Regions from separate parts of the Homo sapiens genome. Here region 2 is linked to region 1. Evidence: promoter capture Hi-C in 16 types of primary human blood cells and fetal thymus (Javierre and others, 2016). All regions are on one chromosome and are shown on one strand. The core of a region is centred on a gene start or on the middle of the fragment in contact, and the rest is flanking DNA. Distances in the headings are between cores, read along the strand shown. Region 1 holds the start of SPPL2C (signal peptide peptidase like 2C). Region 2 holds the start of LOC124904014 (a long non-coding RNA gene).

Region 1 (6,166 bases), core at 2,652-5,151:
CCTCCTCTGCAGTTCAGGCTGGTCAACTCCTCATTCATTCATTCATTCATTCATCCATCCGTTCATTCCTCCAGCAAATACATCAAGCACCTGTAACACTCCAGGGGCTGTTCTGAGCCCTGAAATTACACAGATGAACAAGATGGGCAAGGCCCCTGCCCTTCCAAAGCTGGCCCTCTACCGGGGAAGATCGGAAAACTAAAGGTGCCTGGTCGTGTGATTGAGACAGGGATGCTTTAGGAAAGGCTGCGAAGAGGAGCAGCCAGCCAGGCCAAGTTCACGGGGCGTGGTAAGGAAGGGGCAGAAAGAGAGTTCCAAGAAGAGGAAAAAGCATGGGGGGTGTGGTGGGTCTGGCGTGTGCTTGTGGCGGTAGGGGTTTGGAGGGGTGGAAGAGGGCCGTTGGGCTGGGACCTCAAGGTCTTGTAGGAGCTGGGTTTGAGTCTGTGAGGCTTTCACTAGGGGAGCAATATAAACATAGCTCACGTGCAGGGGGCTCTTCGGACAGGCAGGGCATTGTGCCAATCACCTGACATAGGCCAACTCGTTCAAACTTCCTAAGAACCAGATGGTAGGTCCTATTATCCCATTTCACACACAAGAAAACAGAGGCACTGAATGGATAAGTCATTTGCTCAGTGAGATACTCCAAGTCAGTGGTAGGGCTGGGATTTGTGGTAGGCAGCCTGGCTGTAGAACCCTAACCACTGAACCACACCGCCTCTTGGGATACACTTTCCTCCCCTCCAAAAACACCTCCTCCAGGAAGCCTTCTCACCCCAGAGTTTGTCTGCTCTGATTAAGCAACACATCAGCACCCTACATGGCCTAAAAGCCTGTAGAGTCCTTAGGAGGTCATCTCGTCCATGCCCCTGCCTCCAGATGGAAATGGTATTATAAGTCTCATTTTGCAGATGAGACTACAGAGACCCAACGAGGCTTGAACATTACTTAGAGTCAGTGAGGGAGGCCTTGGTCTCCGGAATTCTTCCACCCTGGGCCCAACCTCTCCAACCCCTCCCGACCTCTTTGAGACAATTCTAAGTTTGTTTCTTGTCTGCCCACCCCTCCCCCTCCCCCAGCTAGACAGAGGCCTTCCCTGTGCCCACCACATGGCGATGCACATAGTAGGGGCATACTCAATGCCTGAAGATGGAATGGGTGGTGCATACAGGAACTTGCTGGGCTTGGTGCTGCTGCCTGGGATTCTTGAACAGAGACGTTTTGCAGAATGGATGTGAGCTGAGGAGTAAAGGATGCTTCGGAATCTTCTAGTGAGTCAGGGAGCCAGGCTGGAGTGTTTCTGTCTGGAGAGGGAAGGGCATCCCAGCTGGAGGGAACAGCATATGCAGAGAGAGCGGGTGGGGAGGACAAGGAGTTCTGTTTGACCTGAGCATGGAGAGAAGATGGGCAATGAGCCTAGGGTGGGTGGCAGGGATGGGATGGGGGCTGTGTGCCAGGCTAAGAAGCTGCCACTCTGGATTGGGAAGGGGTTGGGCAAGCAGGCAGAGGGGAGTAGCTGCCCAGTGAGCCCTGGATGCAAATCCCGACCTTGCCGCTTGAACTTGTGCAAGTCATAGGCCCTCTTGGAGCCTCAGTTTCCCCCCTTCATTATTTGGGGGTGGTGCCCACTCCTAAGGACCCTTCGAGCCCTGCACACTCTTATTATGTGGTTGCTGCTCTCTTGCACTCCCGACAAACAGAGAGACTCCTTGGGTAGATATGAAATCTCTTTGATACCCTGATTTCTTGTTGCCATGCATGGCTTTGCTCTGCAATGTTCCACCAGCCCTTTGAGAGGCGTGTGTCCCAGTGCCTCCAGTTCACAAGGGAGCCTGGGTCGACATGCTCTTTCTTACTTTCAAACCCTTCCTCTTGTGGAGTCCCGCCCAGGGCAGGCCAGTCTCGTGGGCCTGGGCCTGGGCATGGACATGGCCCAGCTCTGAGGGCGGGGGCATCAGGGGCATGAGTGGGATCAGCATGGCCATTGGCATCAGTGGCATCAGCTCCTCCGAGGCCCCAGGGGGGATGAAGGGCAGCTCATTAGGATCCAAGTGGGCGTCACTCCAGCCCTCGGAGCTATCACTGCGGTCCTCTGGATTGGTGGCTTCATTCTCAGATATGGTGACAATCTCAGTGGTGTCTTCTCCAGGGTTGCTGTCTAAGTCCCCTGCTCCTCGGCTGGTGCCTCTCTCAAGTGTGCTGGCTGTGTGGGCATCTGCTGCGCCCTCCTGCTTCTGCCTAGAGCCAGCTGAAGGGGCACAGCCGAGCCCACACATCTTAGCTCTGCCCTGGCCAGTCCAGAAGAGGCTGAGCTCTTGGCGGCAGGCAGCCACAGCCAGGCTGGTGAGCAGGGTGCTGGACACTAGGTAGAGCAAGGCAGGTTGGCCCATCTGCATGAGGACCATGGCCATGAATGTGACCAGCAGGCCCACAGCATAGGCCACGGTGCAGGCCACGAAGTAGATCTGACGGGAGCAGACTTGCACATCAAAGCGGCAACAGTAAGCAACCAGGAAGCCGGGGACCACAATGTCACCGAAGCCAAGGATGGAGAAGGGCTGGCTGCACAGGGTCAAGGCGGAGACTCTTAGCCGGGGCACTTTGAGTACCATGGGCAGCCTCTCATGGCTTGAAGACTCTGCAGGGCCCAAGGCAACCTGCGCCATGATGCTCTCACCGGTTTTGGTGAAGAAGGGGGTGACGAAGACAAAGAAGACATCAAAGGCCAGCAGGGCCAGCAGGAAGGAGGAGCAGTTCTTGAGAGTGGGCAGCCGCACACGGTGCAGGACGAACAGGCAGTAGGAAATGCCCAGTGTGTCCTGCAGGAGCCACGCCCAGCGGTCCTCATTGCGGTAGGCCACCCAGAAGATGATCACGGTTGCGCACAGGCTCGCCAGCAGCAGCAGAGGCAGCGGCAGAGAGGCCCAGAGGCTGTGCGGAGGCCTCTGGTATTGCCGCAGGGACAGGCGGCACACCAGGGGTGACAGGCAGCTGTAGAGGCCAATGCCAGCACCCAGGCCAAAGATCCCAATGGTGACATAGACAAAGTGGTCATAGAAGAAGTAGAGCAGCAGCATGAGCGAGCAGGACAGGGTGACCACCACGCCTGTCATGGCCGGCGTGAAGTCCACTGGGATGTCCTCATTATCTTCCTTCTGGGCTCCCTCAGCTGCTGCAGCTTCCTGCAGCTGATGGTGACCACCAGACCCCCCTCCTCTTCGGGCACGGCGCCGCTGTAGCCGGTTGGCTTCGGTCAGGCCGGCCCAGTAGCCGCCTGCAGCCACTGTGCCCACAGCCAGGATGAAGATGACCAGCATGTTGTAGTCGATGATGGGCTCTGGGGGTGCGTACATGGCCACGCGGACGACGGCCTCCCCACGAGTGTGGCTGAGGATGTCCAGCATGTCAGCATAGTGGAGCATAGCCACAGGGATGGTGAGGTCTGCCAGGGGCTGGCGGGGATCCTGGGGTGCCAGGGTGGTGTCTGAGCACTGTTGGTCACTGACCCGGCTCACGATGAGCAGCCCGTGGGCACCTTGGCCCTGAGCCAGCCAGCCTTTCGTGTGGAAGCTGCAGTTACCCCTCATGACCATGGCAGTGGTCTGGCGGAGGGGCCGCTGGCTGGGGGAGCGGAGCTGGGCCTGGTGGGGGGAATCCTCACCCGGGCACCAGGGTGCCTTGGTGCCATCATACAGGGGCAGGAGTGGGGCGTGGTGCAGGTCCCGGGGGAGGGTGATGTAGTCGGAGCTGAACAGGATACAGTAGTCCTTGCTCCAATTCTCCGACACCACGTGGGCCACGCCGTACTTTCCCCCGGCCACGGTGCTGATGAGGAGGAGGAAGCCCACGGGGAGGAGGAAGCCCAGGCACGCCATCTTCTTCAGTTCCTACTGCAACATCTGCGGGCGGCAGCCCAATACCCCTCCCAGGGGCAGGCGTGGCCCTTTGTCACAGAGCAGTCTGGCCACCTGTCCTGGAAACCAGGGCCACACCTACCTAGTCATAAAGCTGTGTGGTCCCCAGCCGAGGGCGCTGCTGTGGGGCACAGGGTCCCTCTAGAATGATGCCCCCCAACCCTGGGAGACCAGGGGAGAGGTCATATGGACCCTGCTCTCTGCCCAGACCCTAGTGGGTTTAGACCAGGTACTTTGAAATAAAAGGTGTGAGCATGGGGTTTGCAGGCCAGATAGGATTCTGAACCAACTTTTCTCCTTACCCATGGGGAACACAGGCCAATGTCACTCCTCTCTAGGCCTGTTTCTTTAGCTGTAAAGAAATGAGGACGTTGGGCCAGAGAGTTTCTAAGGTCCCTTGGAGCTCTGAGCTCAGTAACATTGAGCACTTTTACCGAGGGCTTACTAGGCGCCAGGTACCCTAGCTGTACCTATTGCACAGTTGCAAGGAGGTGTCATTATATCTGCACAGCCTGAGGCTGTCCCTCAAAGTTGGTCCCCATTTCTACCAGGCACATGACCAGAATTCACCTCCAACTCCATTTACAGTTGGGAACGGACAGGTGACCAGGAGAAATTAAGCAAAAATGATGTGAACTCTTTACATCAGGGGCTTAGGCTGACAGACCGTGGGGCTCCTGGTTTACCCTCTCTTTCCCTTTCTCAGGAGTCAGAACAAGGACGGGCCTGTGATGTGTCTGTCTATGACGAGGAGGACAATGTCCTAAGGAATGGAGAGGAAGAAAGTGAAGGGAACCAGGTCCCTGGATTCCATGTGGAACAGTAGCCCAGGATGTGCACTATGGACTGTTACAAGAGAGAGACATGATCTTCCTTAAGGCATTGATTTGTCATGAGTCTCTTTGTTATAGCCACTTAACGTTACCTTAATACACCCACTTCATGGATAAGTAAAACTGAGGCTTGGAGAAGCCCACATTGACACAGCAAAGAAGGCTGGGGCTCTTGTGCTGGTTAAATGGACCTTGATGTCTTCCAAATGTTTTCATGCTGGATTCTGAGCCACTCTCCTGGCTGCAACTCTGAGGCCGGGCAGACTTTCCGCTGGAAAGAGAACTCAAATACTGGTGAGAGGTGGATTTGAAGCCAGGAGCCCCAGGTTTTGGCTCTGCAGGTTTGCACCCAGCTCTGTGGTGTATGCCCTCACAGGTCACCCAGGACCTCCTGTCCAGGCTTCTTCAGGCCACCCATGATGGAGTAGATTTGAGGAATGAGGTTTTCAAAGCAGTTAGTGTGCGGGAGAGTAACCCTGGGGCCTCCGGAACCAGAAGGGAGGGATTTGGGGGCTGGAGCTTGGCAGTCCAGGTTCCATTGTCCTCATGTTCTCCCCACTGGCCTGGCCTGTCACTCCAGTCTCTGCATAGGTTGTCACATGGCATTCTCCCTGTGTGTCTCTGTGTCTCTTCTCTTCTTTATAAAGACATAGTTATAATGGATTAGGGCCCACCCTAATGACACCATCTTAACTTGATTATGTCTGCAAACACCCTACTTCCAAATAAGGTCGCATTAACAGGTACTGGGGTTTAGGACTTCAACATGCCTATTTGGGGGCACAATTGTGGGCAGCCCCACAACACACATGTAATTTTAACCTCTAAGGAGTAAGCATGCTGATTTTTTTTTTTTTTTTTTTTTGAGACAGGGTCTTGCTCTGTTGCTCGGCTGGAGTGCAGTGGCACGATCTCAGCTCACTGCAAACTCCACCTCCTGGTTTCAAGCAATTCTCCCCCGACCCAGCCTCCCGAGTAGCTGGGATTACAGGTGTGTGCCACCATGCCCAGCTAATTTTTGTGATTTTAGTACAGATGGTGTCTCACCATTTTGCCCAGGCTGGTCTCGAACTCCTGGCCTTAAGTGAATCGCCCACCTCAGCCTCCCGAGGTGCTGAGATTACAGGCACAAGCCACTGTGCCTGGCCAATCACTGATCTTTCTCAAGGACTCTCCTTCTTTTCTCTTTGAGATGGAGTCTCACTCTGTCCCCTAGGCAGGCTGGAGTGCAGTGGCACAATCTTGGCTCACTGCAACCTCCACCTCCCAAGTTCAAGCGATTCTCCTGCCTCAGCCTCCCAAGTAGCTGAGATTATAGGCGCCCACCACCATACCTGGCTAATTTTTGTATTTTTAGTAGACATGGGGTTTCACCATGTTAGCCAGGCTGGTCTCAAACTCCTGGCCTCAGGTGATCCA
Region 2 (6,421 bases), core at 3,922-6,421, 430 kb before region 1:
CTGCTGCCAACTTGCTGGCAGAGCCCAGAGGATGACTGCTGGCAACTGCTGATGAAGGAGAGGAAGTTGCTTGGAGGTCCTGGGGCCTGTGGCAAGACAAAGGGAATTTGGTAAAGGAGCAAAGGAGACCTAGGCTGGGCCCGCATAGTGTAGGGGCCACTTAGGATGTCTTCTTGCCACCTGGTTATTTTATGTAGCTTTTTAATATACTGAAGTTGACATAATTTTCAATAAAGCACATGGGAGCTGAATGGAGACGTTTGCTCAATTCTGCTTAAATAAACAAATTAGGCTGTGTGCAGTGGCTCACACCTGTGATCTCAACACTTTGAGAAGCCAAGGCAGGCAGCTCACTTGAGCCCAGGAGTTTGAGACCAGCCTGGGCAACATGGGGAAACCCCATCTCTACAAAAAATACAAAAAATTAGCTGAGCATGGTGGCACGTGCCTGTAGTCCCAGCTACCCAGGAGGCTGAGGTAGGAGGATCACCTGAGCCCTGGAGGTTGAGGCTGCAGTGAGCCATGATTGTGCCACTGCACTCCAGACTGGGCTACAGAGTGAGACCCTGTCTCAAAACAAACAAATCAAAAAAAAAAAAAAAAAGAAAAAAAGAAAAAAATTACAATGCAAAGAATTGTATAAAGACAACTTGCTGTTGCATTTTTAGGGAATTTCTATTGCTTTCCAGATTTAAGGTAGAATGAAACATAACTAGCCAGTTATTGAAACTTGATTTTATTATGGGTTTCCAGAATTTCCTTTGCCATATTTTCCCATTGTAATTTATGATCTCCAGCATTGTTTGCACATTGTTTTCATTACTGCACTTTGTTATAATTCATCATTTATACCATCCATATTCTTTCTTTTCTTACGGATTGTGATATCTTTAGTCTAAATTTTTAACTGGAATCAGAACTGGATGTTGGGGTCACTGTTTTATTGTACCTTGTGATTACGTAATCCAAAATTGCCCCCCAAAAAGTCAGGTTAGCTAATATAATTTTTTAATGTTAACGATGTATAGTGGTAAAAAATTTATTCTAGCAGCCACGTGAAACAATGTATTTAAAAATTGTAAACTATTGGAATACTGTATTTATCTGCTATTGCAATATAAATTTATCTGCTATTGCAATATAAAGTCCTTTGACTTAGTCCTGGTAACTGTACAGTAATTTGGTTTACTGACAAAAGTTGTGAGGCCAGCCTTGGTGGCTCACACTTGTAATCCCAGCACTTTGGGAGGCCGAGGCGGGCGGATCACCTGAGGTCAGGAGTTTGCGACCAGCCTGGCCAACATGGTGAAACCTCGTCTCTACAAAAAGTACAAAAATTAGCCGGGTGTGGTGGCAGGCACCTGTAATCCCAGCTACTCGGGAGGCTGAGGCAGGAGAATCGCTTGAATCTGGGAGGCAGAGGTTGCAGTGAGCCAAGATCGCGCCTTTGCACTACAGCCTGGGGACAAAAGCGAGACTTCGTCTCAAAAAAAAAAAAAATTGTGAATAAAACTGTGTGAAACTGGGAGACTTTCTGGACTTTAATAGAAAAATATGATTTTAAAATTGCTTTTTCTTTTGTTTTAGCATAATTTTTCCCTTTATATTCCCCTCATCCGTGTAAATAAACACACACATACACACACACACGCACCTTTCACCACAATGGTAATGCTTCTGTAAATGTCTCTATTTGTCCAGTTGCCTGAAAATGTTGTAATCTTTATTAGACAAATATATATACATACATATTTTAAATATTGGCTTTTTCCAGTGAGCTATTATGCTTAGTGTACAGTGAAAAGTTTTATTATTATAGGTTAAAAATTTCTTAATCGTTCTTTTCTATTCGCTTGCCAAGGGTGAATGAAAGAACATGGCTGCTTCTTCCAGATTTATTTACTTTGGCATCCGCATAAAGCATCATTTTCAAAAATGAAAGGTGCTCAATTGTTCCCTTTTTCTATACTCTGTAGGTCTCACAACAACAAACTGCAGTCTACAGCTTCCTAAAGTTCAGCATGTTAACCTAACATAAAACACAGCAAGAATCTTGTTGCCTGAACTATTTTAAATTAAGGAGCCAGATCTTTTTAGTGAGGCTATCCTGACAAGACTTGACCTAAACTTTGTTTTTATTGGTCATAACAGTCCAATTATATTATTGGCCAATTTTGTCCAATGGACAAGAAAAAAGCAAAGTTGCCAGGTGCGGTGGCTCACGCCTGTAATCCCAGCACTTTGGGAGGCCAAGGCGGGCGGATCATCTGAGGTCGGGAGTTCGAGACCAGCCTGACCAATATGGAGAAACCCCGTCTCTACCAAAAATACAAAATTAGCTGTGCATGGTGGCCTATGCCTGTAATCCCAGCTACTTGGGAGGCTGAGGCAGGAGAATCGCTGGAACCCGGGAGGCAGAGGTTGTATTGAGCCGAGATTGAGCCATTGCACTCCAGCCTGGGTGACAAGAACAAAACTCCGTTTCAAAAACAAAAAAAGGAAGAAAAGAAAAAGAAAAAAGAAAAGTCAACGACACCATTATCTTGTCAAGATCAAATGGTTTTATTATTGTGGCAGAAGCGAGAAAATTTTGTTTATTAAAAAAAAAAAAGAAAAAGAAAGCAAGAAACAATGATACTGTGGGGTCAAGTATAACTCCATGGAAATGCCACGTCTGCTCTTCAGTGAAGAAGCTGGTTTAGAGTCTCAAAGAAAACTTTTGACTGTATTTATTTATTGTTGCAAAAAAGATGCTTTTTTATTGCTGCCCTCATTTGTCAACTAATTATTTTTTCTTATAAAATCCAGCCACGGTTACATATAATCCATCCATATCTTATCAATGATTCCTGTACGTAAAAGTACAAGACAACCTCTAGATGTCTTTTCTTTCTATGAAAGGAGCTGCTATGTACACATGTGCACACACACACAACTGCGAATCAACAATGAGTTTATTGTTCATGGTAGATTAAAATCAAGCTTGCATAAAGGTTGGGCTAAGTGGTCCTGGACTACAGACTCTGGTGACTTGAATATAACAGTACAATTTGTCAATTACTCCACACCAGGTTGAAATGAGTAAAATCTATTTGAAGGTATCTTCTTTGTAAACATTTGTCAGATTCTAATTTTTCTTTTTGTATTAAAATTCAACTATGGATGTATGTGAAACAAAATAAATGGAGATAGTTTTTCTCCCACAGACAGAGGTGTCTTTGAATGTGTGCTAATGATTATCTGTAAGCCTCTGTGGGGAGGGAGGGCTGCAAGGTCATGAAAGGCAAAAGAATCTAATTGTACCTGGAATTCTCCTGGACAGCAGTGGCCCCTCGTTTTATCATTCCCAGTCAATTGTCATCACGTCAGAGAAGAATCTTCAGGGGTGCTAATCCTGTCGCATCAGTTGATCATACTAACGAAAAAGGTAATGCGACAAGATACACATTGCCTTCATCTGTACATTCTGTGATACTGGGCAAATTACCAATTACAGACAGCTACTTATATTGTATGAAGGACATTTTTTGTTAGATGATCTCATCCTCTGTGTTATTTGTTGATTGGGTTTGTTTTTTGCTTGTTGGTTTGTTTGTTTCTTCCATGTAAGGAAAAGTAGTGTAAGCAGTAGGAAGAAAATGAGGAAGATGTATTTTGCATGTTCTTCCTTTCAATGTTCTTACACATTGTATTACTGCATTGTGGTAATAGCTTCTATAAAATCTGCCATAGCTGGATTATGCAGCTTTGCAAAAATTCTACTAGATTTTATTCTAACTCATATTAGCTTTGTCCTATCAACTTCTGGAATTTATCTAATTATTGCTTTTAAAAGTTTCCTTCCTTTCAACGTTTCCCTGCTATGCAAAACCTTTCCCAGACCTTGGTTTCTTAAAAGAAAGATGTTGCTACAGTTCCCAATTCTTTCTTATTACAGGCTCAGGTGTACAGGTTATTCTGGCTTAATTTTATCTAATGAAGCCCATTCCTTTTTGTACATGAAGATGTCACTTAAACCTATGTTTACAAACTAAAGAGACTAATCACTCAATATGAAAACATGAAAACATTTTTGCTTAAAATATTAAGATGGAAATACTTAAATATGGATTATTTTGTCCTTTTACTTTTTAAAAAAAGTTACATATTGTATGCACTGTGCTGATGCAAGAATTCTACATTTTAATGAATTATAAAATTATTCTGCATCTCATCACGTCACAGTATTTCTGCACTATTTATTCATATATATAGAAATATATATGGGCTTAATCATTTAAAATTTGTTGCAGCAAGAACTTTCCTACCTGTAGGCAATAGATTGCTATGTTTTCAACAAATTGTGGCAAATTCTAAACAGCAATTCTTTTGTATGTAATAGGACATTTCATACTAGAAAAATAAAGTAATGTTTTTGACATTGGATTTGGTGCAGTTTCTAATGAAGCAACGGTTGGTTGGTGGTAATATGTCTTCTGTAGCTGTTAGCATTGCCAAATTAAAAAGGGTAAATTTTATGGAAATCCTGAGACCAGGAAGATATTAATTTCATGTGTATTTAATGGTATAAAGTGTTTTACAGTTTCTATCACCATACAAATACATAAAGACATTTTATAGTTTTATCAACTATAGGGCTTTAGTCTTTCAAAAGTAATTTTTGAAAAACACACATTCCTGGCCAGGTGTGGTGGCCCACGCCTGTAACCCCAGCACTTTGGGAGGCCGAGGCAGGGGGGATCACCTGAGGTCAGGAATTTGAGACCAACCTGGCCAACATGGTGAAACCCCATCTCTACTAAAAGTACAAAAATTAGCCAGGCATGGTGGCAGGCACCTGAAATCCCAGCTACTAGGGAGGCTGAGGCAGGAGAATCACTTGAACCTGGGAGGCGGAGGTTGCAGTGAGCCGTGATCACGCCATTGCACTCCAGCCTGGGGGACAAGAGTGAGACTTCATCTCAAAAAAAATAAAAAAGAAAGAAAAACATACATTTTTTAGAACATAATGAGTTCTGAAAGCTGCTTTTCTGTGAGTAATCTTTGAAAGCTTCTGCTATTAAGATCTATATAACACAGCTATTTTGCTTTCAATAATCCAGGCAGTAAACTGTACATTTGTGATACTCTTAGGATGTTTCTACCACAGGCCTTGGGCTTGTAAATATATTTAATTTGCATCAGTAGATTTCCTTGGCTAAAAGTATTTTCAATAACTGTTATGCTTCACCTGCCAAGTTCACAATCCTTGAAACCATTTCATGAAAAGTATTTTCCTATTGGTAAAGCTTTTATTCTCCTATCCAAATTCTACAGGAGGTTTAAATAAAATTGTGGCTGGGCATGGTGGCTCACGCCTATAATCCCAGCACTCTGGGAGGCTGAAGCGGGCAGATCACAAGGTCAGGAGTTAGAGACCTGCCTGACCAACATGGTGAAACCCTGTTTCTACTAAAAATACAACAATTTAGCTGGACAAGTGGCACACACCTGTAGTCCCAGCTACTCAGGAGGCTGAGGTGGGAGGATGGCTTGAACTGGGGAGGCAGAGGTTGTAGTGAGCTGAGATTGTGCCACTGCACTCCAGCCTGAGCGACACAGCAAGACTCTGTCTCAAAAAAAAAGTGAACTTTTGGAGATATTTTCTGAAGTAAAATAATTACCTTTTTATATTCCAAATGGCCTAGAGTGTTATTTAGAGACACTAAGATTTGCTGTTGTTTGTAATCTACCTTCCTGGGATCTGCAAATAAAAGTTATTTCCCTATTTCTGCTAATTCCTTTAGGCAAACTCTCTACTTCTTTATGTTAAAGAGCCAACCTGGTGGACTTTCAGATCTCTGCACACTTAGTTAGACAAAGTTACATGGTTATTACAGCTTTCACTCTTCCTGATTGAAACTATCATGATACGGCTGGGCGTGGTGGCTCACACGTATAATCCCAGCACTTTGGGAGGCCAAGGCAGGTGGATCACCTGAGGTTGGGAGTTTGAAACCAGCCTGACAAACATGGAGAAACCCCATCTCTACTAAAAATACAAAAAAAAAAAAAAAAAAAAATTAGCTAGGTAAAGTGGCGCATGCCTGTAATCCCAGCTACTTGGGAGGCTAGAGCAGGAGAATCACTTGAACCCAGGAGGGAGAGGTTGCGGTGAGCTGACATCATGCCATTACACTCCAGCCTAGGCAACAAGAGCGAAACTCCTTCTCAAAAAAAAAAAAAAAAAAGAAACTATTACCATAGGTCTCAGATTTCTTGCCCTTAATGTGAGAATGGGGATATTCCATGGATAAAATAATGAAGTACTTGAGGAGGTGGAGGGAAGAGCCAACCGAGAAGTATTTTTAATAATTTGAAACATTCTAAGGTATTTCTAGATACTTGGAGTGAGATACTAAAAGACTTTTCTTAGAAGATT

The links. Contacts are between HindIII fragments. The CHiCAGO score rates a contact against its expected background, and 5 or more counts as called.
Region 2: a fragment that was not itself captured here is called in contact with the fragment with the promoter of SPPL2C in region 1 in 1 of 17 cell types (endothelial precursors); the score reaches 5.2 in endothelial precursors.

The regions. Positions count from the first base shown.
Region 1 is chr17:45,842,616-45,848,781 of GRCh38, reverse strand. It overlaps SPPL2C (signal peptide peptidase like 2C), which reads right to left and starts at 3,901. Exons shown (of 1, transcript NM_175882.3): 1 at 1,715-3,901. The coding sequence starts at 3,875. The coding sequence ends at 1,821. It overlaps MAPT-AS1 (MAPT antisense RNA 1), which reads left to right. Exons shown (of 2, transcript NR_024559.1): 2 at 4,621-5,426. RefSeq lists enhancers at 2,011-2,994, 2,995-3,979. The HindIII fragment of the contact is 7,159 bases long and covers 1-6,166 here.
Region 2 is chr17:46,270,974-46,277,394 of GRCh38, reverse strand. It overlaps LOC124904014 (a long non-coding RNA gene), which reads right to left and starts at 3,379. Exons shown (of 3, transcript XR_007065823.1): 1 at 3,304-3,379; 2 at 1-86. It also overlaps a transcript of LRRC37A not described here and a transcript of ARL17B not described here. The HindIII fragment of the contact is 238 bases long and covers 5,053-5,290 here.